Regions from separate parts of the Homo sapiens genome. Here all the other regions are linked to region 1. Evidence: promoter capture Hi-C in human tissues and cell types (Jung and others, 2019). All regions are on one chromosome and are shown on one strand. The core of a region is centred on a gene start or on the middle of the fragment in contact, and the rest is flanking DNA. Distances in the headings are between cores, read along the strand shown. Region 1 holds the start of LZTS3 (leucine zipper tumor suppressor family member 3). Region 2 overlaps DNAAF9 (dynein axonemal assembly factor 9). Region 3 overlaps DNAAF9 (dynein axonemal assembly factor 9). Region 4 overlaps DNAAF9 (dynein axonemal assembly factor 9). Region 5 holds the start of GNRH2 (gonadotropin releasing hormone 2).

Region 1 (5,263 bases), core at 1,946-4,445:
GGTGGTGCGCGCCTGTAATCCCCTACTCAGGAGGCTGAGGTGGGAGAATCACTGGAACCCGGGAGGCAGAAGTTGCAGTAAGCCGAGATCATGCCACTGCACTCCAGCCTGGAAGACAGAGCGAGACTACATCAAAAAAAAAAAAAAAAAAAACAGGTTGGCGCGGTGGCTTACGCTTGTAATCCTAGCACTTAGGGAGGTCCAAGACAGGTGGATCCCCTAAGATCAGGAGTTCGAGACCAGCCTGACCAACAGGGCGAAACCCTGCCTCTACTAAAAATACAAAAAAATTAGCTGGGTGTGGTGGTGCATGCCTGTAATCCCAGCTACTCAGGAGGCTGAGGCGGGAGAATGGCTTGAACCCAGGAGGTGGAGGTTGCAGTGAGCCAAGATCGCACCACTGCACTCCAGCATAGGTGACAGAGCAAGACTCCCTCTCAAACAAATAAACAAAACAGAACAAAAAAAGTGGTACAAAACAAAGGCAGTCCACAAGGCTAGAGGAGTGCAGAGAAAGACATGGCAGAGTTCCTGCTAAAAGAGAAGACAGTTATTTAAGGAGGTTTGAGATTCAAGGGCTTTTTTAATTTTAAAATTAACCATGGTAGAAACCTGTGTGTTAATATGCTGAGGGAAGTTGCCAATAGTGAGATGAAAGATCTAGGCAAGGGGATAGCAAGGTGACTGCACCAGATACCTGGATCTGGGCAGGAATAAACCTCAACAGTGATCATGTTGACCTTGAGTGACAGGGTATAATGTTTGGGAAGGTGCTTTGTAAACTATAAGGGGCAATACAAACATGTAGTACACCTTCTCTGAGATCCGGGAAAGGACAACCTGAGCATAGGTTGGGGCTGGTCATAGGCCACTCTCCCCTACTGTTTCTCTAGAGTGTGTGTAGTCCCTAGCAAGTCTCAGATGCCTCGAGTCGTGGATGGAAACAAGGTCCCAGGACCATTGTCCTGAGCCTCCTTTCTCCGTGCTCTACCTGGGGAATGCTTGACTATCAACCCACAGAAGCTCTCTCTGGAGCCTCACTGCCTAAAGAGCTTCTTGTCGTAATTGTAACCTGTCATGGTTAACCCCTTGCAAGCATGCCCTGCCCCTTGTCTCTCCCAAGCTTTGGCTGCTGCAGCTTCTTTCCACAAAATCCCAGCAGATAGCCGGGCGTCGTGGTGCGTGTCTGTAATCCCAGCTACTCGGGAGGCTGAGGCATGAGAATCGCTTGAACCCAGGAGGTGGAGGTTGCAGTGATATTGCGCCACTGCACTCCAGCAGCCTGGGCAACGGAGTGAGATACCCCCTCAAAAAAAAAAAAAAAAAAATCCCAGCAGGACACCGGCAGGACAAGGAAGGGGATGTTTCCCTGGTAAGCAGGAACTGAACTGAGAGGAAAGGTCACGGTCCTGAACTAGTCCAGGTAACTGAGCATGGTCTGCAAAGGCAGCCTCCTGGCATCAGTGCACCACCCTGAGATGACAGCCTGTTGCCTGACTGCCTCGATCTCTGTCACCTCAGCCCTCAGTGCCTGGGGCATTATACACAGTATTAGCGTCATGAGGGGGCCAAACGGACTCTACCTGACAGTTACATGTACAGGTACCTCCAACCCACCCCTCAACCTGTGTCTCTCCCAAAGCTAGGAACACTTGGGGTCTCAGAGGCCCCAACCCCAGCCCATTCTATCTCCTAAAAATCTCTAGCCAGCCCCTCCATCCAGCACCCCTGCTGGGGGCTCCTCAATGGACTTTCTTCTCCTGCACTCCCTCCCCCAGGCAGCTGCCAGGGGATTCCTTCTAAAGGGCAAAGCTGATCTTGCCCCTGCTCTGTCCAAATCCTTCCATGAGCAAGACCAAGTGCAGTAGACAGAGTTCTGGCAGCATCAGCTCCAAGTGTAAATCCCAGCTTGACTGATTAGGGGTGCAACCTCATGCAGGTTATTTCACCTCGGGTTCTCACACCTACATTGCAGGCATTTTAAGAAGTAAATGTATGATGGGTGAAATGCCTGGTATTCCTCTTGGTCCCCAGAACCAGAGCAGAGCTTGCAGCAGGGTCCCCAAGGACTCTCCTGATGCCCCTCCTCTATCTACCCTGACCTGAGCCCCTCTCTACTTCACACACAAGCTCTTGCCAGCTCTCTGTGCCCATCCTACATGCTTCTAGACCAGTTCAAAGGCTGGCCTCAGGACAGCATCCCTGATCTCCACCCCCCAGAGGGGGCATCTTGGAGCACTTGGCTGAGGACACCCCAGGGAGATTTCACTCTGAGGCCTCCCCAGGGCTGGCCTATAGGTTTCCCAGGAGCACAGAGGGCAGAGTCCTGGGGGTCTCTGGGCCCTGCACCAAGGAAATGCAGGGCAAATGCCTGTGGGAATGCTAGTTATGGGCAATGCAAAGAGGCAGTGAATCCGGGCAGGGAGAGCAGGAGGGGTTTCCAGGAAGCAGGACTGAGGGAGGAAAGGGATCTGGGGGCACTGCAGGGCTTTTGGGGTGCAGAGATATCCAGAACTTCTTGGTTGGGATGAGTGAGGGGAGATCCGTCTTCCCTCGGTGGCCTAAGCACTGGCAGCGGAATGGGCCCATCACCTAGCTACTGGCTCTGATGAAGCCAGTGTTTCAGGACTGAGGGGGCCGAGAGCGCCCCCTCCACCCCGAGCACACACACGCGCGCACACACGAGCTTCTGCTGGGGGTGGGAGGGGGGGTCGCCATTCACCAGCAGCCCACGGCCCGCAGAGCCAACTGATAGAGACCCCAGCCACAGGCCACAGGACCTGGGAGTCCCTGCGATGGGGGAAACCCCGCCCGCACCTCCCCAGGCTCCCCACCAACGCGTGTGGCCCCGGGGGGCGGGGCGCAGAGGGAAGAGGTGACATAATCCGAGCCGCACCCCCTCTGGCCGCCACCTCCCCCCAGGCCGGGCGAAGCATCCATGACATCATCCGCCTCCTCTCCGCTCCCCTCCCCCTTGGGACCCTAGCAGCGGGACGCGCCCCCTACCCAGTCCGGGTCAGGTCAGACATGCCGCGCAGTGCAGCAGGCACGGCGGCAGGTCGGAGCCGGGAGGGATGCCACGATGGGCCTGCCTCACTTACTCGCTGCCTCAGGGTCCGGCGCGGGGTCTCCGACACGGGCGCCACCGGCCCCGCTTGCTGGCGCAGCCCGAAGCACGCCCGGCGGGGCGCGCTGCGCGGGCCCGGCTCCGCTCCGCGCCCCTCCTGCTCCCCGCCCGAGCCCCGCCCACCAGCGGCTGCGGCAAACGCGAGCCCGCCCTCCGGCCACGCCCCCCAGGGCAGCCAATGCCCGGGCTGGGGCGGGGTGAGGCGCCTTAACCCCTTCGTCGCTGCGCCCCGCCCGCGCGTGGGACCCCTCAGCCTCACCCTCTCTAGGGCGCAGCAAGTCCGCCGCGAGCCCCTCTGCTCATCGCTCGTTACCCCCCAGGCCCTTGGGCTTGGGCTCAGGCCCAGTCGTTCCTCTGCAACAAATCCAATGGAACCGCGCCCTCCCTGAATCCCACGTCTAGGAAGAGGAGGAGGAGCCCCTCTTGCTTGGGGGAAGGGGCTCCCGACTCGGAGCCCCGAGCCCCATTCCTCTCCCGCGCCAGCTCTTCGGGACGCGGCCTCCCAGCGGACGCCCTGAGACCTTGCAAGTCCGCTAGGGAGGGGTCGGGACGAGCCGTCGCGGGTGGATCCGCCCGGCCGAGCAACGACCCGCCCGGGCGCGAGGACCACGGGCTGTCGTGCGGGAGGCGTCGAGGGGCAGTAAACTCCGTTCGTGACCAAACGGAGACGATTTGAAACTTGCTGCTCACACTGGATCACCGTCTGGAAGGTGCGACGGGGAAAAAATACACATTACACTCCAGCAGGATTGAACGCTTTCACCCTGTGCCCCGCGCCTGGCGTAACGCGTGGCCCCAGACCACACGCTGTAACCCGGGGTGAGAGGGAGTGAGGTGGGACTTCGTACCGGACCCGGAGCGCCGGCCTCGCCCGCGCGGGCAGCGTTCACTGTGGGGAGTGCTCACTCAGCCTAGGGCGGCCCGGGAGGACTGCCGGGAGGAGGGAGTCGGCCTTGAATTGAGGCCTCAGCCTTGAATAGGGTAGGGAGGCAAGCCTAGCCGAGAGTTTAGCACTAGCAAAAGCCTGGAGGCACCAGGGTCTGCCCTAAGAACTGCAGCGCCTCTGCTCTGGCTGGGATTTAACGCATTACGTCTCTGCTGTTTATAGGTGTTGTGTTTGGTCTTACGACTTCGTATTCTATAGTTTTTATTTATTCCTGTTTTCTGAATTTTCCCACATTTGCTTTTATCTTCTATCGTGATTTTCAAGGCAGAAAGTATTTTTAATTCTTCTCGCGGCTGCCTTTAGATTTATCAAATGAAAATAGTTTACATTTCACACATTAGTAAAGTCAGTGACAAATAATTCGTTTTTATATTCCCCCATGAGAAATTTTGTGTGCTTTTCTGCCTCCTACCTGCCGCCCTCACTACTTATATTTGTCCACTTAATCAGGACGACAGACCTAACTTTTGTTTACACTTTTTTTTTAAGCCACAACATTCTTTTTCAATCCTTGTTTTTGGCTTTTGCCAACTCTGTTTAATTGGTTTCAATGTTACTGCCGGTTTTTTGTGCTCTAATTTTTCTATTCCTCATTTGGACCCATCTCTCACATGACTGGTGATTTCAGGGAGGACTCTGGAATGTTGTATTTCCTAAGCCTTTGCCTTAGGTGAGAATGCCTTTATAATGATTTCCTGTTTATAGGATTCTTGAGTCTCAAGCTTTCCCCCTCAAAACTCTTGTCTTTATTTCATTGTCTTCTGGCACTGAAAATGCAAAGCTGGGTTTGTCTGTTTAAGGTCAGCAGTTTGCTTGGTGCTTGCAAGGGTTTTTCTTTACCCTCAAAAGTCAAACATTTTGCCAGTATAAATCAATATGGGCCTTATCTATTAATTTTCCAGAAACAAAAGAGGTCTTCTTTGTAGCTTAGAAAAGTTTTCTTCCTGTCCATTCTGTGAAAAGATTTGGGTTTTTTTCTTTCCTCTCCTCTAAAACTATCACATTGGATCACCAATGTCAAATAAATCTGTTTGTTTTCTCTGCACCCTGGGAGACTATATCAAGTTTTTCTTCACCATTACGGATTTAATTTTCTTCAGAGCCAAGAGTACTGTTTATTTTCTCCAATAAGACATTTGATTCTGCTTGTTTTATTTTTCTTTCAGCCAATTTCCATTCCACCTCTGTCT
Region 2 (5,263 bases), core at 1,216-3,715, 200 kb after region 1:
CCAGCTACTCGGGAGGCTGAGACAGGAGAATTGCTTGAACCTGGGAGGTCGAGGTTGCAGTGAGCCGAGACTGTGCCACTGCACTCCAGCCTGGGCGACAGAGTGAGACTCCGTCCCAGAAAAAAAAAAAAATCCCAGGGCAGTCCCTAGGCACTAATCCCCTAAGAGATGGGATTCAGGATGGTGATGAAGAAGCAGGCAAAAAGTTAAGTTCATAAACTTACCACTAGGTCCCAATTTGAACAGCCTCCTTTTGTCTCCACAGGCATACAATTTATCTATAAGGTAGCCTCAAAACGAAATATGAAATTCTCCACTTCAAACAGATAATCTTTTTTATATAGTCACACTCTGCAATTTGATTGCTGATCCTATTTCAGATCAACACTTTCCTTAAAGAGTATTCTTAGAGTGTCTCTAGGTGCCTGTCTTCTCTTTTCTTCTTACCTCATTTTCGGTCATGCAGTGGAAATGCAGATTTCTCCAATGTGCCACATAAGGTAAGAGATAGCGAAAGTTTACAGGATTACAGTACAGATGGACGCTATCCGATTTAATCAATATAATTACATCTGTAAGAAAAACAAAATCAAAACACAAGACTGTCAAACACATTTCTTTTAGATATTTTCTGCCCACATAATTAGTAAAACCATTGAAACTACTTCAGAGACAATGTAACAAAACTCTAAACTGAAAATTATTTAATTAAGCACTGTGCCTTGTAAACCAAAAAGTATCTGAGACAAGTCTCAATCAATTTTGAAGTTTATTTTGCCAAGTTTAAGGACATGCCTGTGACATACCCTCAGGAGGTCCTGAGAACATGTACCCAAAATGGCTGGATAACAGCTTGATTTTAGACTTTTTAGGGAAACAGAAGTTACCAGCAGACATCAACCAACACATGTAAAGTGTACATTTGGTTTGGTCCAGAAAGTCGGGGTCAGGAGTGAAAGGGTCCTTTCGTGTCATATAGGTGGATTCAAAGATTTTCTGACTGGCAATTGGTTGAAAGAGTTAAGTTTTATTACCTAAAGATCTGGAATCAGGGCTGGGCACGGTGGCTCACGCCTGTAATCCCAGCACTTTGGGAGGCTGAGGCGGATGGATCACGAGGTCAGGAGTTTGAGACCAGCCTGACCAACATGGTGAAACCCCGTCTCTACTAAAAACAAAAACACAAAAATTAGCCGGGTGTGGTGGCGCGCACCTGTAATCCCAGCTACTCAGGAGGCTGAGGCAGGAGAGTCATTTGAACCTGGGAGGCAGAGGTTGCAGTGAGCTGAGATTGCACCACTGCACTCCAGACTGGGCGACAGAGTGAGACTCCGTCTCAAAAAATAAAAATAAAAATAAATACAGACCTGGAATCAACAGAATGTCTGGGCTAAGATAAGCGGTTGTGGAGACCAAGGTTCTTATTATGCAAGTAAAGCCTCCAGGTAGCAGGCTTCAGAAACAATAGAAGGTAAATGTTTATCAGACTTAAAAAGGTACCAGATTCTTAGTTGATCTCCCCTGGATCAGGAAAAGACCTGGAAAGTGAAAGGGATTCTCTACAGAATGTAGATTTCTCTGACAAGAGACAGCTTTGCAGCACCATTTAAAAATATGTCAAAGGAGTATATTTTGGGATAAAATACTTAGATTTCTTTCAGGGTCTGCTATCTGCTATGTGATGTACCTTACTGCTATACAACAGCAATTTGGTTGGTCTTAAGATCTGTTTTCTTTCTTTTTTTTTTTTTGACAGGGTTTCACTCTGTCACCCAGGCTGGAGTGCAGTGGCATGATATAGGTTCACTGCAACCTCTGTCTCCCAGGCTCAATCCTCCTGCCTCAGCCCCACAAGAAGCTGGGGCTACAGGTGAGCGCCACCATGCCTGGCTAATTTTTATTTTTTTTTTGTAGAGACAGGGTTTTGCCATGTTGCCCAGGCTGGTCTCGAACTCCTAAGCTCAAGTGATCCAGTCACCTTGGCCTTGAAGTGCTAGGATTATAGGTGTGAGCCACTGCACCTGGCCAAGATCTCTGTTTTAATGTTAATGTTGGTCAGTTATGCCTGAATTCCAAAAGGAAGAGGACATAATGAGGCACTGCCAACCTCCACTTCCTATCCTGGCTTGAACTCGTTTTTCAAGTTTACTTTGGAATGCCCTTGGCCAACAAGGGGGTCCATTCAATTGGTTGGAGGGCTTAGAATTTTATTTTTGGTTTACAGCTTCAAAGTGACTTTAGAACTTTCAAATGTTGACAGCAAGAATTTCCTAGTCCCCAAACAATACTCCCCCTACCATGGCCCTCTGGGTCTGGCAATGCAGTTGCAGAACGAGTCAAAGAACAGCCTCCATCTACTGAGGCATAGTGTTCACATAGTCACATCTATGGGACCAGACATAGCTGAGTACTTCACTGCAGAGGTCAATACCATATGGAAACCCCACAGCCTAAGGCCACTGAGGCAGGGAAACAGCACCAAATATGGCCAGTGACTAGTTGTCCCTCAGACATCAGTGTCTAAAGCTCTCAGCTGTTGGCTCATCTGGCTCTAAGGCAACTGCAGGCCCAACGATACTGCTTGTCCCTTTAGGAAGAGTTATTGTGTGCAGTGGTGAGCTTTGTACGCAGGAAAGACTGGGAGGAAGGAAGTAGAGGCCAGTGGAAAGAGCTTCTATAAATAGATCAGCAGCTTACAGATTTAAGGAATAGTCTTCAATGCTCATGGGTGAAGTAAATAAAGCAATCCCAAGAATGCAAATAAACCTAGGTAAATGGAAGAGCCATGGGATGGAGTAGAATATTAAAGCAGTTTGACAACTGAGGACAAAGGCAGTCATACTTCCAGAAGAAAACCAGAGGCCCCATTCTATGGCTCCTCAGAAACAAGAGCCATTAGGCCTCCTAACAAGATGGAACTAGATGCTGTCAGAGGTAAGAAAGGCACACGCATAGGGGCAGAGAACACCTGATGCAGCAGGTGTAGGACAACGTCAAAAGGGTAATACAGTGTGACAGACCACACCTGACAAAAACATCTTATAAGCCCAATAAATACTGACCACATCTGACCACACAGCTGAGTGGCCTCCTGAAATAAAACTCCATGGGTCTGACCTTTTAAGCCACTCTAAGCCCCATGCCTGTAAGGCCCAGGGTGTTCCAGGGAACACAGGATGTAGCAGCCTCATCACTATTGACTCTTTAGGTAAGCACAAGAGTCAAAGGGTAGCAAAAGGTGGAATGGAGGCCCCTCTCATCTCTCAGCATATTGGTCCTTCTCACACACTCCCTCCAAGAGCCCTTCCCTGAGTCATTCGTAGACCACCTGCAGAGGAATGAGAGTTGGCTATTACCTGAAGACTGAGGGCTTCTGGTGTGTATTATACTCTACAGTAAAATGTAACATGCCTCAAAGAATTAGGATCCCGTAAGAGACATAACATAGTAGTTACTAAACCTAAAGTAAGCATTCCCCAAATCTCTTAGAACTCTGGTGTTATCACTATGAACCAAAGTTTAACAGAGTTTACAGTCAGGTAAAAGAGGAAAGCATATGAGAATGGGATGAATACGTAACCTATTTAAAAGCTGCTTTTAGGCTGGTGCGGTGGCTCATGCCTATAATCCCAACACTGTGAGGCCAAGGCAAGCGGAGTTCAAGACCAGCCTGGCCAACATGGTGAAATCCCTTTCCTACTAAAAATACAAAAATTAGCCAGGCATGGTGGCGGGTGCCTGTAATCCCAGCTGCTCGGGAGGCTGAGGCAGGAGACTCCACCAGGAGGCAGAGGCTGCAGTGAGCCAATATCACACCACTGCACTCCAGCCTGGGTGATAGAGCGAGACTCTGTCTCAAAATAAATAAATAAATAAAAGTTGCTTTTAGAAGTAAATTCATGTTGGCCTTTCCCCCTCTCATATGAGATCAAAATGTAGAAATTTGGTGATCTCTGCTTTCCAACTACTTGTATAAACAAATTTATTAATTTGTAGGAAAATGCTCATTTCCTAGGCACCCACTGTGCCAGGTAAAAAGATAAAAACAGGCCAGGCGTGGTGGCTCACAGCTGTAATCTCAGCACTTTGGGAGGCCAAGGCGGGATCACCTGAGGTCAGGAGTTCGAGACCAGCCTGGCCAACATGGTGAAACCCTGTCTCTACTAAAAATTCAAAAATTAGCTGGGCATGGTGGTGCATGCCTGTAATCCCGGCTACTCGGGAGGCTGAGGCAGAGGAATCTCGAACCCAGGAGGTGGAGGATGCAGTGAGCCAAGATCGCACAACTGCACTCCGGCCTGGGCAACAGAGCAGGACTCTGTTTCAAAAAGAAAAGATGAAAACAAAAATAAGCAAAAAAGCACACCTTTAAGAATTTAAACTATTTCCTTAATTTCAGTACTGTAATGTCCTTAGCAATCTGGGCTGAGGTGAAACGTGTGGCTGGTATGAGCTGCCAAGATTGCTTTTTTCTAAACCAGCAGATGTTGTATAGCGTAAGGAAAAAAATATTTTGTAATCAAAATCTGAAACCAAATTTGAATGGAAAAAATTGTAATGGAAGGAGTAATTTCAGTCTACTCTTTTTGCACTTCCTAATAAAAAGGAAAGCTTTAATCAGTCTATAAGAATAAACACTACTAAGGACTTAACCAGAGAAGAATTTTCATATATACCAGACCAGGATTTCTCAACCTCGGCACTACTGACAGTTTAGATCAGTGAATTCCTTGTTCTAGGTGACTGTTCTGTGCATTGTAGATGTTTAGCATCATCTCTGGCCTCTATCCACTAGATGCCAGTGGCATCCCCTACCCAGTTTTGACAATCAAAAATGTCTTCAGACATTGCCAAATGTCCCCTGCAGGACAAAACTGCCCCCAGTTGGGAACTACTGCACTAGACACATAGCAATATTATTTCACATCAGATGTTTGTTTTCATGCCTCCCCCAGCTGCCTCACAAGAGCTGTCTGTCTCTTGTCCACTTTTATTTTGTCTATTCCAGTGTCTCCTGACCCATCTGGCATACAAGACATGATTCTAAATATGTGATATCAGAGATAGCTCCTGGGCAATAGCCCCCAGCAGCATCAACACAGGCAGAGTGTCTCAGTGCTACGGAGAGGGGAATATAAACAGAAATCCAGCATTGTAGTCACAGGCATCTTCATGAATTAAAGTCACAGAGAAAATAATTCCCAAAGACAGCAGGACAAAGAGCCTTTGTTCCTCAGCTGATAAGCCACAAGAAATCTTCCTT
Region 3 (5,263 bases), core at 820-3,319, 150 kb after region 1:
GTCTTGACTCTTGGACCACAACAGGAGAAAATGACATGAGAGGACTGCTGCTCACTGCAGACTGAGAATGACCCTCCATCCCTGCTCTGAGCGCAAGCAGAGGCCACGTCTCTGCAACTCACAGTCAAATGCTGTGGAGCCATGGGTGAGGCCTTCAGAGTTGAGAAATAACTAGAAAACCCTTTCAGCTTACTCTAACTTGTGTAAGTGTAATCTCTTGCATTAACACATACTAGATAGCTACACACTAATTACTGTCTGCATTCATGGCTCCCACTCCTTCCCCTCTTGGGAGAAAGAGATCTGCTAACCTGAAGCAGTTTGAGGGTCCTCAGTGAAGTAATCTTTTTTTTTTTTTTTTTTTTTTTTTGAGACAGAGTCTCATTCTGTCACCCAGGCTGGAGTGCAGTGGCGCAATCTCGACTCACTGCAACCTCCACCTCCTGGGTTCAAGCGATTCTCCTGCTTCAGCCTCCCCAATAGCTGGGACTACAGGTGTGTACCATCATGCCTGGCTAATTTTTGCATTTTTAATGAAGGCGGGGTTTTGCCATGTTGGTCAGGATGGTCTTGAACTCCTGACCTCAAGTGATCGCCTGTCTTGGCCTCCCAAAGTGTTAAGATTACAGGCGTGAGCCACTGCGCCCCGCCCTCAGTGAAGCAATCTTTGTGGTGAGAAAGGGGAGGGGCTCTAGGTGGAAGACTGGCCTGGGGGACTTTTCTCCCATTGACTGGTGTTTTCTTCTTGTGCCTTTCTCCAGCTAGGGCAGACACCTAGGCCTAGGAGGCCTTGGGACTGAGAGGGGGCCTGCTCTGGGGAGGCTGAGTGGCCTAGGCAAGGGCCCAAGTAAAGGAGAAGTAGAATGACTATGCCAGCCATATTGATGGTAAGAGAATACCCCACTGTGACAGCAGCTAACATCTATGTGCCCAACTGCTTTACAAGGTGGGTAGCTGAAGGAGCAGATACAGACAGTTCCTATCTTGCCCAAGGTCACACAGATGCAAACTGAAGAAGCGTTCTCAAATTCAGGTTGGCCAGAAACAGATAGCACAGGGCAGCACAAGGTCTTAAGGGAACAAACTTCCTTTATCCTTTCCCTTTCATGGCCAGGGCAGCAAGATCCAGAAGACCCAGGGGAAAGAAGACCTGAAGCAAGTCTAAAGCCCTGCACCACAGAGTTCTGGCTCTTTCTTCCACTCCTGGGGCTGCAGAAATAGAATTCTTTTTGTTAGACCAATTAATTGACTAATCTTTCAAATACTCTCTCTTATTACACAGGACTATAGATTTAAGAAAATGTGGGACATAGACCTGAGGCATCACAGGACACATCCTAGAAGTATTCTTAAATAAATTCCCCAGTATTGGTGTCTTTTGTATCCTTTGTATAAAAGTGCACATAATGGTCCTCACGTGAAACAGTGGTTAAGTGGACTGGGTTCATGAAGATTTAGCTATGGATAACAACCACCGTGACATGCTGGGAGATGTGATGGAAAAATCACCAGATTCTCAGATGATGCAGACCCCAGGACACGGCCAGGCTCAGGGTTTCTGTCATTCAAGAGACAGATGAGGCCCAGTGCAAGTTTCTTCTAAGCAGTGACTATCTTCCTGTGCCCAGGGCCCTCTGCCCCTAGAAACCTCACCATTCAGGTACCCAGCTTTGCCTTTCTAGCCTTGGAACCCAGGCTTGTCAAATCTCCTGTGATGCTGGTGTTAATCTGCCCTGCATTCTAACCTCAGAACATGTGTGTGACTTTCTCAAACAGTTCCTGCATCTTTGGCTCTTTGGCTTCTAAGTGAAGGCTGAATCATGAATGATTCTCCTTCACACATCCCATTATTTTACTGAAACATTTCTCAAAGGGGAGATGAAATCTAAATTATAAGGGAAAAAAGAATATTCCAAAACGAAGAAAAAAAATTCCTTATAAAAAATATCAGCCATTGCTTACCGCAGGGCTGCCTTAAACGGAATCAACTCAAAGGAATCTAACCCAGATCCCAGAGTTTGCTCTGCTACCTCCTTGGCCTGTAAAATAATAAGACAGCGACAATTAGCTTTCACAGCAGGAAAAAGTACACATATCACTGATGGAAGGGCCCTCCTAACACTTGTCCAGGATCACACCATGCCCTACAGTGTGTCCTTCCCATCTATGTGACTACTTGGTAGGCATGAATAGATTAAAGTGAAAGTATCATGTTAAGGGAAAGAAGGGCCTGCTTTCTCCAGGCTAGGTTTACAGGACAAAACTGCATTCAGGCAGGTGTGCACTGGAACCTGACGTGCTGGATCCAGAGAAGTGACCAGCTGTGATGACAGCAGTGGAATGTGAGGTCTGTAAAAGTGCTTTCTCCTCCCCTCTTCCTTGGCTCTTGGGAAGGAACCTCTGCCCTCAGAGTTTTAGCCAGATGCTAAGAATATCCAAATAGCAAGAGTTACAAAAGATCAGTTAAAAAACAAAGATGTGAGAACTGATATTGAAGGACACCCCACTGCTTTGGATAAGCCTTCTGCATGTAGTGGCTAAAGGGCTGAGAAATCCGGAGTCAGTACCAGGGATACAAGTTCAGTGAGGAGGGGAGATGGCAAGGAGCTGGTGACTACAGCTACAGTCTCTCTGATATCTACATCATACACAACCTTTCCAATGTCAAATGGCTTCCTTCAGAAAAGGTCCTATTGGCATTTGGGAGGCATCAAGCTGACTCTTCTCATCTCCTTACTGGGTCAGATATAGGAATCCAACTCAGCAGGGCAGGTTAACCGCAAAACAGCAAGGAAGATAATGGTCAGAGAACGGGAACACATGTGCTTGTCTAGGAAAAGCAAGTCAGATTTTCTAATCTTTAGCTATTTTTTTTAAACACTGAGTTATAGGAAATCAAACTTACCAAACTTTATTAGATTTCACAGTAGAATAATCTAAAGTTGTCTTTTTGGTTTTTTTTTTTTAGCTTTTAAAAGACTTTTGTTTAAGCTATTCAACAAAACAATGTGCTACAGAATGATTTTTCCTTAACACAACCAGATGTCTACAAAGAAGCACCGATTAGTTGTCATCCATAAGACAACAGCAGCACAGTCACAGGCAGCAGAAGCTCAGTGCTCTCAGGGCTTCTCTCTGCCTGGTGTCAAAGAGGCCCAAGCTCGCACAAAAGTGAGTACTACAAGATGTCCAAAGAAGAAACACATGGATAGAATGTTTTACATTAAAATAATAATTACAGAAAGGGAAACATGGTATTTAAATTACCTTTGTTAGACTGGAAGTTTTAGCATAACATGCAATGCCAGCCAAAACAGCCTCAATAACAGCAGCATATATCTGGGACAATAGCCTACTTTAAAAACAAAAAATAATGGTTAACATTACAGCATCATGAGGTTTTTGTCAAAAGATGCATGCACATAAATGACAGCCCCTAAGAAACTGATTTTTAAACAGAATGAAAAAAGGCAAAAATATAACCCACTGATTTCTAAACCTTTTAAAAGTCACATGCCTGGGCCAGGCATAGTGGCTCAGGCTTGTAATCCCAGCACTTTGGGAGGCTGAGATGGGCAGATCGCTTGAGCCCAGGAATTTGAGACCAGCCTGGGCAACATGACTTAACCCCATCTCGACAAAAAATAAAAATAAATAAAAATAAAATTATCCAGAAATGGTGGTGTGTGCCTGTATTCTCAGCTATTTAGGAGCCTGAGGCTGGAGGATCACTTGAGCCTGGGAGGCAGAAGAGGCTGCAGTGAGCCAAGACTGTGTCACTGTACTCCAGCCTGGGTGACAGAGTGGGACCCTGTCTCAAAAAAAAAAAAAAAAAAGTCATATCCCTGGTTTGACTTATACTTTGCTTTTGTTAAATCACCTTAAGGAAAGTCGGCTCCTCTGAATTCTGCTCAAGAGACTGCCCCTCCCTGTTTGTAACCAAACAGAATAAAACTGTGTAGACTCCTTGACTCCTCTATGTGCAGGAACAGCTACCTACAGAGCAGGAATTCCTTCAGTGTTCTCATACCCACTTGCTGCTTTCCCAGGGACCAATCATACTGTAGTTTCATATCGTCTTTTCACTAGACCTGCTGAAGGCTGGTCTATTACTGGAACCTCCGGGTAGGAGACCTCAGCGGGAGAAGAGAGATGACCAGACTGAGGAAGGGCTGGGTTTTTCTCTGCCAGAATGGACTGCCACGAAGGTCCCTAGAAAAACCAGTCTGGTTCATTTCAGGGAACCACCTAAGGTGGTTTTTCCACCTTGGCATTTAGGACTGGATAATTCTTTGCTGTGGGGGTTTGTCCTGTGCATTGTAGGATGTTCGGCAGCACCCCTGGCTGCTAACCAGCATCCCTACCCACTAGATGTTGGTAGCATTCCAGTTGTGATAATCAAAAATTTCTCCAGACCCTGCCAAATGTTCCTGGGAGTGGGGAAAGATGGGGGAGGGAGGTACAATAGAATTGCCCTTGGTTGAGAACCACTGCCTTGGAGGAAGGAGGTGCAGGCTCTTCTTAGGACACTTACGAAGAGAAGGGGCTCATCCAAGGGTCCCTGAAAGGCCAGGAGAGGCATCTGGCAAGGAACTGACAAGGTCTCACCTAAAAATGTGTCTATTTTTAAGCCCATAAGAATCTTGTAAAGGAATCAGGTAAAGGAAGGTGATAGGAGTTTGAAAGTGGGAAAAAACACAGAAATGATTTGGTCTAATCCTCTCATCTTATAGAAGAAGCAATAAGGGCCTCTGGAAGTGGAATATGTTGTCTATTAAGTCACAGAAAATTCATGGCTGACCCAAACTCAGATCTGCTCTCAGCCTGGTGCTTTTCCACTGTGCCACATCACATTGCCACCTCCTTCAATTTCCTCCTTGGCTCCTGCACCACATGCAGGACATGACATGTCAGCTCCAAGTATCAACATATCCTGAAGACTTCTGGCCAGGCAAGGGCAGGGCAGAGGGTATACCCTGGAAGGGGCCTGGCAGAGAGATGTGAATGAGCTTGGCCCCTTCCAGGTGAGACCAGAATCCTCTACACTTTGACACTAAGGGTGCATTTAAAGATGCCAAACCCAAAGACATGCAAAGATATCCCCCTCCTCAGCTGATTCAAACATCACTCGGTACCAACACTGGTCAGGCCTTCCCCTTGCTTGGTCTTCTCCTATACTGATCCTTACATAGGAGATCAATACACAAGCCACATGGCCGCTGACCCATAAAATTAAAAAGCCTGCATGGCTCTGTTTTTTTTT
Region 4 (5,263 bases), core at 1,746-4,245, 140 kb after region 1:
AGCGACTATCTAGGTTCAAGCTCTGGAAACCTCTACCCTCCAACAAGTAGCCTGGCTTTCTGTGCACACTGCCTTTTCCTGAGGCCCTCTGAAAAGGAGGCTAATCATGCCCCAGCCTCATCCTGTACCAACCCTAAAGTTCCTCCATGCTGCTCCCAGGCCAGTCTCCCCAACACCACAGCATGTTACTTTCATTCCCCTAGAGACACAAGCCCCTCCCTCTACTGCTCACACCTACTGCCCTCCTGACCATGCCATATTTCAAATCACTCTGAATGTGCTCAGTCTTCCCTTCCAATGCCAACACTCCCATTCCTTCTTAGAGCAGTAAAGCTGCACCCAGAATGTCATGACTTCTGAAATCTCCAGCCCAGCAACTACTCTCTGACTCCAGCACCCCATCCCCCTTTTAGCTGTTTCCCTCCCCACACCCCATCCTCTGATGTCACTGAGCCTTCACAGTCATTGGTATTCGCATTTTCCCCTATTGCTCAGAAATTTCTGATATTCTTCTCATCCACATCAAGGGCAGATCCTCTGGGACAGGACTTAACCTTTAATCTTTGTTCTGTTAAAAGAAAGGAATGGGAACAGGTTTCACGCAGTATTTACTAAGCACCACACATGTCATACATTATAGTTTTCTGTTTTCACAATTGTAACAGGTGGTATTATTTTTTCTCATAGGACAGATGAGAAAACTCAAGCTTAGAGAGATTTCCCCCAAAATCACAGCATTACTTGGTGGTGGAGCCAGGTACAGAACACAGGTTTGTCTGATGCCAAAGACACTATACCATGCTGGTGCCTTCAGTTCTCTCATGTTTTTTTTCTTTCAATTCTCCCCTGTCCAAAGCCCAGCTGTGGTGAATCTGTAGATGTGCCTTCTCTGCTCCCTCAACCACAACAGGCCACAGTGCTGCCCCGTAGCCTGTTCACTGCTGTCTCCCCACTCCTTCCATCAGCCCACAGAGCTCATCCCAGACCTTCAACACTCTCCTAAAACCACAACCCCACCAACTCCTGCCACAAGATGACTCTACTTACTGTTTCCAGAGATAAGAGGGCTCCATAGGTGTCACGAGGTAGAAACTGCTCCTGCTGCTGAGTGGTTAGTACCTGCACCCTTCCCTGTCCTGGGTATCCCTCTACATTTGTACTTTTGAAGTGAACCTTTTTAGAAACAAGTCCAGTGCCACTTGAAAGGCCTCCTGGACAAAGCTCAAAATCCTGAAGCTTCCAGAAAAAAGCACAGATTGGAGAAGCTGGCACATTCCATTTACTCAATAGGAAGATGGGAAAGGATGAGCGAGGTCATCTCCAGCATTTCCTCTCCCACTAGACTCTGAAGCCTCAAAACAAAATGGAAAAGAGGAAGACAAATTCACAAGACAGTGCTGGAAGAGCTCATTATGGGGCATGAGCCAAGGCAAGGTCTCAGTAAACAGGATCTGATTTCAGTACTGTCCTGTGATCTGTCCTGTGATCGCAGCTGCCCCTTAGCCTGGCTCTATGAGCAGTAACTCTGCCATTATTCTCAGAGCACACATGAGATAAGTGAAGTGACTTACTGGGTGGCCCAGTGCCTGTGCTCTGGTCTCAGATCCTCATCTGCTTGAAGCAATAACCCTTCTGGTATCTGCTCTGGACTCTTGACTGTCAGACAGTGGTCTGAGGGCCATACCTTTGCAGGGGTTCACAGGGGCCAGGGCAGCCAACTCCTGAGGAGATCTCCCTGACTCTTTGTGCCATCCTTGGTGTCCTTAGTGGATGAACTCTGTCCTTCCTTCTCCATTCTGTAAGTCTGAAAACCCAGGATAAGAGGAAGTTTCCCATTATTGTCCCAAAACCAGGAGGACTGCAGTTTGGTTGTCTTTGATTGAGCTCTGTATCCCTGGAAGTCCAACAAAAGAGGGATGGGCCCTCAGGGTAAACCAAAATACCAAGCAAATGCCAAAGAAGAATTTCGCTTTCCTCTTTCAGAAAACTGGCTGTACAAATAAAAATCTTCCAACAGCCCAGTCTATGTGAGGAGGGAACATTTATCACTGCTGGGGAAATTTATGATGCAATGGCTAGATGATTTTCATCCTGTGTCTATAAATGTGTGTGAAATGTACACACAAGGTTTAAAAAAAAAAAAAAAAAAAAACTAAAGCAACAACTACAAAACCCAGATGTCTATGAACTCACCACTGGGCCTAAGAAATTGAGCATTACTAGCACCGTTGAAACCCCCTGGATGTCCTTCCTCAATGAGAGCCCTTCTCTTCCACCCAGGGGGAACAGCATCCTGAATTCTGGATGGTTTTACCACACTTGAATGTATTTGTAAACTGTGTATTACTTAGTTTTGTCTGTGTTTTTATATAAATGAAATCCTAATCATGTATTCTTCTGTGACTTGCTTACTTCTCCTGACATTCTGTTCCTGAATGTGACCTATGTTACAAGTAATATGCAGCTATACAGTTCCTTCATGCTCAGTGCTGTACAAAACTTTACTTTTTTTTTTTTTTTTTTTGAGATGGAGTCTCACTCTGTTGCCTTGGCTGGAGTGCAGTGGTGCCATCTCTGCTCACTGCAATCTCCGCCTCCCAGGTTCAAGTGATTCTTGTGCCTCAGCCTCCCAAGTAGCTGGGATTACAGGCATGCGCCACCACGGTCCAGCTAATTTTTGTATTTTTAGTAGAGATGGGGTTTCACCACGCTGGCCAGGCTAGTCTCGAACTCCTGACCTCAGGTGACCTGCCCGCCTCGGCCTTCCAAAGTGCTGGGATTACAGGTGTGAGCCACCGTGCCAGACCAAAACCTTCATTTTTAAAGTGTCCCTCCAGCCAGGTGCGGTGGCTCCCTCCAGCCAGGTACAGTGGCTCACGCCTGTAATCCCAGCACTTTGGGAGACTGAGGTGGGAGCTTCACGTGAGGCCTGGAGTTTGAGACCAGCCTAGCCAACATGGTGAAACTCCATCTCTACTAAAAAAAAAAAAAAATTAGCCAGGTGTGGTGCCACATGCCCACATGACTCCTCCTCCATGCATACATGGTAGGGGCTAAGCTCTCTGGTAGCTCTTATAAGGGCACCACATCCCAACAGACCTTGTCCCACATTCATGACCTCATCTAACCCCTATTTCCTTCCAAAAGCCCCATCTCCAGATAACATCACTTTTGGGGTTAAGGCTTCAACACTGGAATTTTGGAGAGGACACAAACATTCAGTCTCTAATGTGATAAGGCAAGTTCCCACCTTGTTTTTCTTCTTCAGGAGTATCTTGGCTGTTCTTAGCACTTTGCTCAAAGTTATTGACATTTTTATGTTGGCTTTTCAGGATTTTCAAAAAACTTGTTGGTTTTTTTTTTCCTGAAATTATGTTAAATTTAAAGATCACTTTGGAGAGAATTGTCATTTTTACCATGTCAAGTAAGTAAACCTGAGTTTTCCAGTCCATGAATGGGATGTGTGTTTATGTCATTTTTAATGCCTTTTAGTATAGTGTTATAATTTTCTCAGCCTCCAGACTGTGAGAAATAAATTCCTACTGTTAATCCACTCACTCTGTGGTATTTTGTTATGGCATCCCAAGCAGACTAAGTCACCATATAGAAATATGTTATCTATCTAAAATAAGACAATGTGTTATTTTCTTTCCCAATGGAACAGAACAGAGAGCCTATTAATAGATGCACACATAAAGAGACTTGATTTATAACAAAGCTGGCACTGCCGATCAGTGGGAAAACAATGATTTTTCAATAACTTTGCTGAGACAGGTGGCTACCTACATTTAAAAAATGAACTTAGACTTCTATCTCATATCACTTTCACAGAGCAATCCAGGTGGATTCTTTGAAAAATTATATTTTTATAATTCAACAGAAAAGTCTCAATAGATCTAAAATATATGAATCACATAGGAAATGATTAATTATCCTGATTACATTAAAACTAAGAACTTTTATTCATGAAAAAGCATCAGAAATAAAATAAAAAGACAAGCCACCAGGTGAAAGAAAATATTTGCAATATACTGAATTGACAAAGAATTAGTATCCAAAATCTATAAAGAATTCCTGGCTGGGCGCAGTGGCTCACGTGTAATCCCAGAACTTTGGGAGGCTGTGGCAGGCAGATCACCTGAAGTCGGGAGATTGAGACCAGCCTGACCGACATAGAGAAACCCTACCTCTACTAAAAACACAAAATTAGCCGGGCATGGTGGTGCATGTCTGTAATCCCAGCTACTCGGGAGGCTGAGGCAGGGGAATCGCTTAAACCTGGGAGGCAGAGGTTGCAGTGAGCCAAGATCGTGCCATTGCACTCTAGCCCAGGCAACAAGAGTGAAACTCCATCAAGAAAGAAAAGAAAGATGAACAAACGAACTAATGATCGAGAGAAAGAGAGAGAAACAGAGAGAGAGAGAGAGAAAGAAAGAGAAAGAAAGGAAAGAAAGAAAAGAAAAAAGAAAAGGAAAGAAAGAAAGGAAAGAGAAAGAAAAAGAAAGAAAGAAAGAAAGAAAGAAAGAAAGAAAGAAAGAAAGAAAGAAAGAAAGAATTCCTAAAATAGGCCAGGCGCAGTGGGTCACGCCTGTAATCCCAGCACTTTGAGAGGCCGAGGTGGGCAGATGACCTGAGGTCAGGAGTTCAAGACCAGCTTGGCCAACATGGCGAAACCCCGTCTCTATTAAAAATACAAAAATTAGCTGGGCCTGATGGTGCACGCCTGTAGTCCCAGCTACTCGGGAGGCTGAGGCATGAGAATTGCTTGAACCTGGGAGGTAGAGGCTGCAGTGAGCTGAGATTGCGCCACTGCACTCCAGCCTGGACAACAGAGTGAGACTTAGTCTCAAGAAAAAAAAAAAAATTCCTAAAATAAACAAGAAAAAGGCAATCTAAAAGAAACATGAGCAAAAAACAAGAACAAGCATTTAACAGAAGGGAAGTATAATAGCTTGGCCAATAAATAAAGACGGTTCACTAATAATAAGAGAAATGTAAATTAAAATCCTAATAATAACAGCACTGCACACTCACCACAGTGGCAAAACTGGCAAAACAGCAAGTGTTGGCCAGAATATGGAAAAACTCAAATACCTGTATGCTGCTGCTGGAAGTATAATTTGGGACAATCAATTTGTAAAACAGTCTGGCCTCATCAAAAAAAGCCATATGTGGGCTCATACTAAAATTCCAAATTTTTACTCTTCATTCCAACCCTACAGAAACATTTGCCCATGTGGACCAAGAGACATGCACAAGAATG
Region 5 (5,263 bases), core at 1,987-4,486, 130 kb before region 1:
TCCGTGCTGATTTGGCCAGTGGATAGGCATCACCTGGGTGCAAAACCATTGTCTCCAGGTAGGAATGACCTCAGCTGTTTGCTCCGTGTCTCGCTCAGCCTGTAGATGTGTCCCTCATCCCTTCATGCCTCCCTCTTCACTCCTCTTTTACTTTCTACTCGGGGCTTGCATGTTTACAAGAGAGGTGAACCCAACAGAAACTAGTATAGGCCAAAAGGAAAATGTGCTGAAGCTCACACAGCACAGTCGTGTGGAAAAGGCAGCAGTGACTGCTTCATCCAGTGCCCTTCCCACAGCCAGTCAGTTGCGACCCAAGGGGCTTAGGGTAGGAGTGTTTCTCCATAGGGGAAGAGTAACAGCCTGCACCCACCACACACCCAAAGCCCTACATCCTGCCACACTGAGACCTCACTTCATTTGGGCGGGTCCCTCCTGGGTTGCAGTTTCCTTCATTGCTCCCCTGTCCCAAATACTCAAGTCTCTCTCATTAAAAATAAAGAGCAGGCCAGGTGCAGTGGCTCACACCTGTAATCCCACACTTTGGGAGGCCAAGGCGGGTGGATCACTTGAGCCCAGGATTCGAGACCAACCTGGGCAACATGACAAGATCCTGTCTCTACAAAAAATAACAAAAATCATCTGGGCATGGAGGCACACGCCTGTAGTCCCAGCTACTTGGGAGGCTGAGGTGGAAGGATCACCTGAGCCCATGAGGTGGAGGCTACAGTGAGCTGTGATCATGCCACTGCACTCCAGCCTGGGTCAAAGAGTGAGACCCTGTCTCAAAAAAAAAAAAAAATAGGCCGGGCACAGTGGCTAATGCCTATAATCCCAGCACTTTGGGAGGCCAAGGCGGACGGATCACCTGAGGTCAGGAGTTCGAGACCAGCCTGGCCAACATGGTGAAACCATCTCTACTAAAAATACAAAAATTAGCCGGGCGTGGTGGCACGTGCCTGTAATCCCAGCTACCGGGGAGGCTGAGGCAAGAGAATTGCTGGAACCTGGGAGGCAGAAACTGCAGTGAGCTGAGATCACGCCACTGCACTCCAGCCTGGATGACAGCGAGACTCCATCTCAAAAAAAAAAAAAGAAAAAGAAAAAGAATTAATTAATTAATTAAATAAAGAGCATGTCTCCCACCCCAGGCCTAAGTTCTTCCCTCTATGAGAGACTACTTGCAGAAACCTGTGTTCTCACTCTTCCCCCTTCCTCACTTCATTCCCACACATTTCTTTTCCATCCCTGCGCACCAAGGTCACCTTGGTGCTAAACACCAGGGACCCATGGTCTCTTCCCCTTTGTGTCACAGGCTGTCCTCTGCCTCTTATCCTCACCCTTTAGCTGCTCCTCCACTGTCTCCTCTCTCAGAGGTCAGGATTCTGGATCTGTCTCTGTGGACCCTCAGCTCTCCTCCAATCCCAAGTCCCCCGCATCCTGGTCGCATGTCAGGGTGGTCCAGAGATGCCTGCCTCCCACTGCCCACACCCAGGGGCCCGCCCTCCTTTCCTCTAACCTTCCCACATACTCTGGCCCCATGGATCCACGGCAGTTCCTGCTGGCCCTTCTCCATTTTGTTCCTTATGCTGCACCCCTCTGCTGCCACTCCCTGCGTCCGTGACTCCAGCTCACTCGTCTCTGTCCTTCACCCAGGCCGCCTGCTCAGGGTTTGTGCCTCTCTGTGCTCCTGCAGCACCTGAGTGTTTATTCACCTCTGAACCTCTGCTTTCCCACCTGAGTACACGCAGCTCCTGGCTGCAGTGACTTCATATCCTGAGGACTGGAGCTCCGTGGTGAACAGATGGCTTTCTATGTTCTAATGAGAGGGATACAAGAGTTCCACAGTTCTAGTCTGGAAAGGACCAAACATTTCTTAAAAGCTAAGTATGTTGCCGGAAAAAAAAGGGAGCAGAGCTTTCCCCAGGAAGCTTGGCTCTGGTTTAGATTTTTCAGGAAAAGCCGGAATCAAATTACAGAATAAATAAAGGCAACCATCCCCCTTTTAAAGGTACACCAGCCTTGGTGCATCTTTGAAGAAAGCATTCTGTAAACCCCAACCAGAACTAAACTAGTACGTCGAACTCAGATTCATTTTCACTAAACCACAAGCAAATGTTTCCCTAAAAATCACCCAGTTAACAAAGTCCGCATATTTAAGCCAAAACAATTTAACTGAACAAATGGGCCACACGTTGATTTCCGGTCCCTGCTAATAAGTCAGTCTGGAAGTTCACAGGTGTGCCCATCCTGCCTTGGCTGCTGAAGTCCAGGTGTCTAGGGCTGACTGATGCCCATTATGCCTCCCCTCCCCCATCTTTGTCACAGGATTTGACGCACCAGCTCTCCAAATGACCCTGGCCCTCCCATTTGCTGTTCAGCCCAAGTGCGGAGATTGGCTATGAACCCTGTAAACAGGCCTCTGACCCCCAGAGGCTGATGGCTGGCCAAGGAAAGCTGAGCTGCTGACGCAGACTGGGAAGCAAGAGCCCACTTCCAGCAGCCCAGGCTAGCTGTGTCCAAATCCATGACTGGGGAGGGGTTAGAGCCTTGAGGGACAAAATTATTCTACCTACCTAGGGAGACTGCACTGGCCCAACAGCTGGGCCCCATCTCATGGGCCCGCTTCTTCGCCAGGAGAGAAGCCACTCCGGGGTAGGTACTGCCCCACCCAAACCCAGCCATCTGGAGTGACCCAGCCCTGGTTCCCAGGTGTGTGGATGTGAATTGTCCCACCCAACCCACTCTACAGTGAGCAAACGGAAGCCCTCTGGGAGAGTGGTCACAGCCTCCCCTGTACCTCTGAACAGCCTGCCAGGCTCCCTACTCTTAGGCTTCCACTGTCCACCAGGGAAAGCCCTGAGCTGGGAGTTGGGGAGCCCCCAGGCATTGCCCCTGCCCAGGACACAATTCTCTTTTGGGATCAGGGAAGGCTGTGAGGGCTTTCTAGGTCTCAAGATCAGGAGCTTGAAGATGCAGCCTGGGAAGTGGGAAGGTGAGACCAGGACATAGGCCAGCCTAAAGCAAGAGTCCTGGGCCTGAAGGCTCCTGGGAAGGTGGTGGGGAGGGAGCATGTGTCGGTGGCCTCAGGGCAGCAGCTGCCTGGTGAATGTTCATGGACTGGATGCTCTGGGAAGCGGGTTGGGTGGTGAGCTTCTCTCTTCCCCTCTGAAGACGTCACTGGAGTCTGGGGGTGGAGCTGCCTGGTCTATAAATCCTGGGGCCATCAGGCTAGGGTCCTGCAGCTGCCTGAAGGAGCCATCTCATCCACAGCTCTTCCTTGGTGAGTGGGGAGCCTTCCCTAAGGGCTAGGACACCTGGACCAAGTTTCATCCTGGGCGTATGGTGTGCTGCTCCTCTTCCCCATTCCCAGGTGCCTCCACCCCTGAACCATGCCAGAGAAGTCCCCTTTTCCTCTCCTCTCCCCAACAGCTCTACCATCTATTCTTGTGCTTGTTGCCCCTGGCATGGGAGGGATAAGGGGTAGAAGCACTTGCCCCCATCAATACCACTCATCCATTCCACATCCCCAACTACTATGGAAGAGATACAGCAGGCCACGGAGAAAAGGGCAGAAGGCCTGCAACTCTGGTTCCCTAGCACTGGTGCTCCAAACACGCCTACATTGAGAACTCCCCTGACCATCCATCTATCCTCCCATCCATTGGCCTGAATTCAGGTCTCTGTTCCCCTCCAACTTTCTTCCACTTCTGGAAACTCCTTGAAGGAAAGATGGATGGACCTGGACAAGTGGGAGGGCCCTCAGAGCTGGCAAGGCAGGTAGCCTCTGTGCCCCAGGCTCAGGGAGAAGGCTCGTCCCCTGGAGCATCATCCCCTGCTGGGCCAGGATCCCCCAGGATCTGGACCCCTGTATGCTTGGGATGAGGAGCGGTGGCAGAGAGGGAAGGGCATAAGGAGATACCAAAGCTGCCCCTGAGATGCCAGTTTTCCAAAGTGGCCCTGGAGGAAGTAGGGGGATGTGGGGGTGAGGTAAGTCTCCTTGAATGCTGTACCCTGTCCATTAGAGCAGCCATGGCCAGCTCCAGGCGAGGCCTCCTGCTCCTGCTGCTGCTGACTGCCCACCTTGGACCCTCAGAGGCTCAGCACTGGTCCCATGGCTGGTACCCTGGAGGAAAGCGAGCCCTCAGCTCAGCCCAGGATCCCCAGAATGCCCTTAGGCCCCCAGGTGGGTGTCTCCCAGCCTCATGGGGAGGAAGAAAGTGATGGCCGGGGGCTCCCCCACCCTCCTGGAGCCTGAGGTCGGGGTAGGGAGGACAGCATCAGTTCCCTTCTAAGGAAGGGCCCTGGACACTGCAGCAGGCAGCCCAGTCCAGACTGCCCATGGCCTCCCAAGTGATGCCCTGGCTCCCCTGGACGACAGCATGCCCTGGGAGGGCAGGACCACGGCCCAGTGGTCCCTTCACAGGAAGCGACACCTGGCACGGACACTGCTGGTGAGTAGGGTGAGAGGTCCCCAGCATCAAGACCAGCCACTGGTCATCAGAGGCCATTGTGGCTTAGGGTTGGGTGCTGGGAGGGTGGGGAGAATGAAACACCACTGAGATGCCCCCTGCCACAGCACCCCCAGCCATTTCTCAGTGCCCCTACTGCACACAGCAGGGTGCTGTCTGCTATCCTTCCTATTTCCCAGGAGGATTCTAGACAATTTACAAAGCACTTGGGTTAAAGACCAAAGTCACTAGTAGACTAGAAGGAGATAATTGTTCTATAAGACAGTGGTGGCCATGGGATCCCACAGGCATCCTGACAAGCCAATGACTGTCTTGAGGTGGACAGACCCCAGGCCAGTGGAAAGAGGTGAGGGATGCAACCTCACTCAAACAGACAACAGGGCCAAGAGGACCAGGTGGTGACTGACATGTGCACTAGGAACATCTCAGGGACTGCAGAGCTCCCCAAGACCATAGCAGAAGACAGGCGTGGGGAAATGGTTTGCTACTGTTTTGCAAATCAAACATTTACAGTGCATCAGGAGAGCCCGGTAACTAAAGAAGAAAGTGGTTAGTTCCTATGAGGCAATGTCTTACCGCCTGATTTGTGTGTATGTGCTGAGGTTTCTATGCGTCAGGCTTGTTTAGGGTGGACAAGAGGGCATGCCCAAGGGAGCTGGAGATCCCCACACTAGCTGGATCCTCAGGCTTCTACGGGAGGCGGGGGGCGTCCTGCTGTGGGAGGCCACATGGGGACTGGGGGGGACGAGAGGGGAGAGAACCAGGAAGATGGCAGCTCGGCGGTTACGAGACCA

The links. The method cuts DNA at HindIII sites, captures the fragments that hold promoters and counts their contacts. A contact is called where the count stands out against the background at its distance.
Region 2: a fragment that was not itself captured here is called in contact with the fragment with the promoter of LZTS3 in region 1 in 2 of the 25 tissues and cell types used here (IMR-90 fibroblasts and hippocampus).
Region 3: a fragment that was not itself captured here is called in contact with the fragment with the promoter of LZTS3 in region 1 in 2 of the 25 tissues and cell types used here (dorsolateral prefrontal cortex and hippocampus).
Region 4: a fragment that was not itself captured here is called in contact with the fragment with the promoter of LZTS3 in region 1 in 3 of the 25 tissues and cell types used here (H1 embryonic stem cells, dorsolateral prefrontal cortex and mesendoderm cells).
Region 5: the fragment with the promoter of GNRH2 here is called in contact with the fragment with the promoter of LZTS3 in region 1 in 5 of the 25 tissues and cell types used here (IMR-90 fibroblasts, dorsolateral prefrontal cortex, heart left ventricle and 2 more).

The regions. Positions count from the first base shown.
Region 1 is chr20:3,170,354-3,175,616 of GRCh38, forward strand. It overlaps LZTS3 (leucine zipper tumor suppressor family member 3), which reads right to left and starts at 3,196. Exons shown (of 5, transcript NM_001365618.1): 1 at 3,102-3,196. LOC107985414 (a long non-coding RNA gene) reads left to right here and starts at 3,337. Exons shown (of 2, transcript XR_001754477.2): 1 at 3,337-3,837. RefSeq lists a silencer at 3,080-3,419. The HindIII fragment of the contact is 8,589 bases long and covers 1-5,263 here.
Region 2 is chr20:3,375,731-3,380,993 of GRCh38, forward strand. It overlaps DNAAF9 (dynein axonemal assembly factor 9), which reads right to left. Exons shown (of 37, transcript NM_001009984.3): 4 at 448-572. Among named protein-coding and RNA genes, the nearest start is that of DNAAF9, 29 kb to the right of the region's middle. The HindIII fragment of the contact is 5,967 bases long and covers 1-5,263 here.
Region 3 is chr20:3,322,930-3,328,192 of GRCh38, forward strand. It overlaps DNAAF9 (dynein axonemal assembly factor 9), which reads right to left. Exons shown (of 37, transcript NM_001009984.3): 13 at 3,268-3,355; 14 at 1,963-2,039. Among named protein-coding and RNA genes, the nearest start is that of DNAAF9, 82 kb to the right of the region's middle. The HindIII fragment of the contact is 9,834 bases long and covers 1-5,263 here.
Region 4 is chr20:3,305,837-3,311,099 of GRCh38, forward strand. The region is part of intron 20 of DNAAF9 (dynein axonemal assembly factor 9); the gene reads right to left. Among named protein-coding and RNA genes, the nearest start is that of SLC4A11, 69 kb to the left of the region's middle. The HindIII fragment of the contact is 8,715 bases long and covers 1-5,263 here.
Region 5 is chr20:3,040,386-3,045,648 of GRCh38, forward strand. GNRH2 (gonadotropin releasing hormone 2) reads left to right here and starts at 3,237. Exons shown (of 4, transcript NM_178331.2): 1 at 3,237-3,280; 2 at 4,023-4,183; 3 at 4,315-4,451. The coding sequence starts at 4,030. RefSeq lists an enhancer at 5,149-5,208. The HindIII fragment of the contact is 17,170 bases long and covers 100-5,263 here.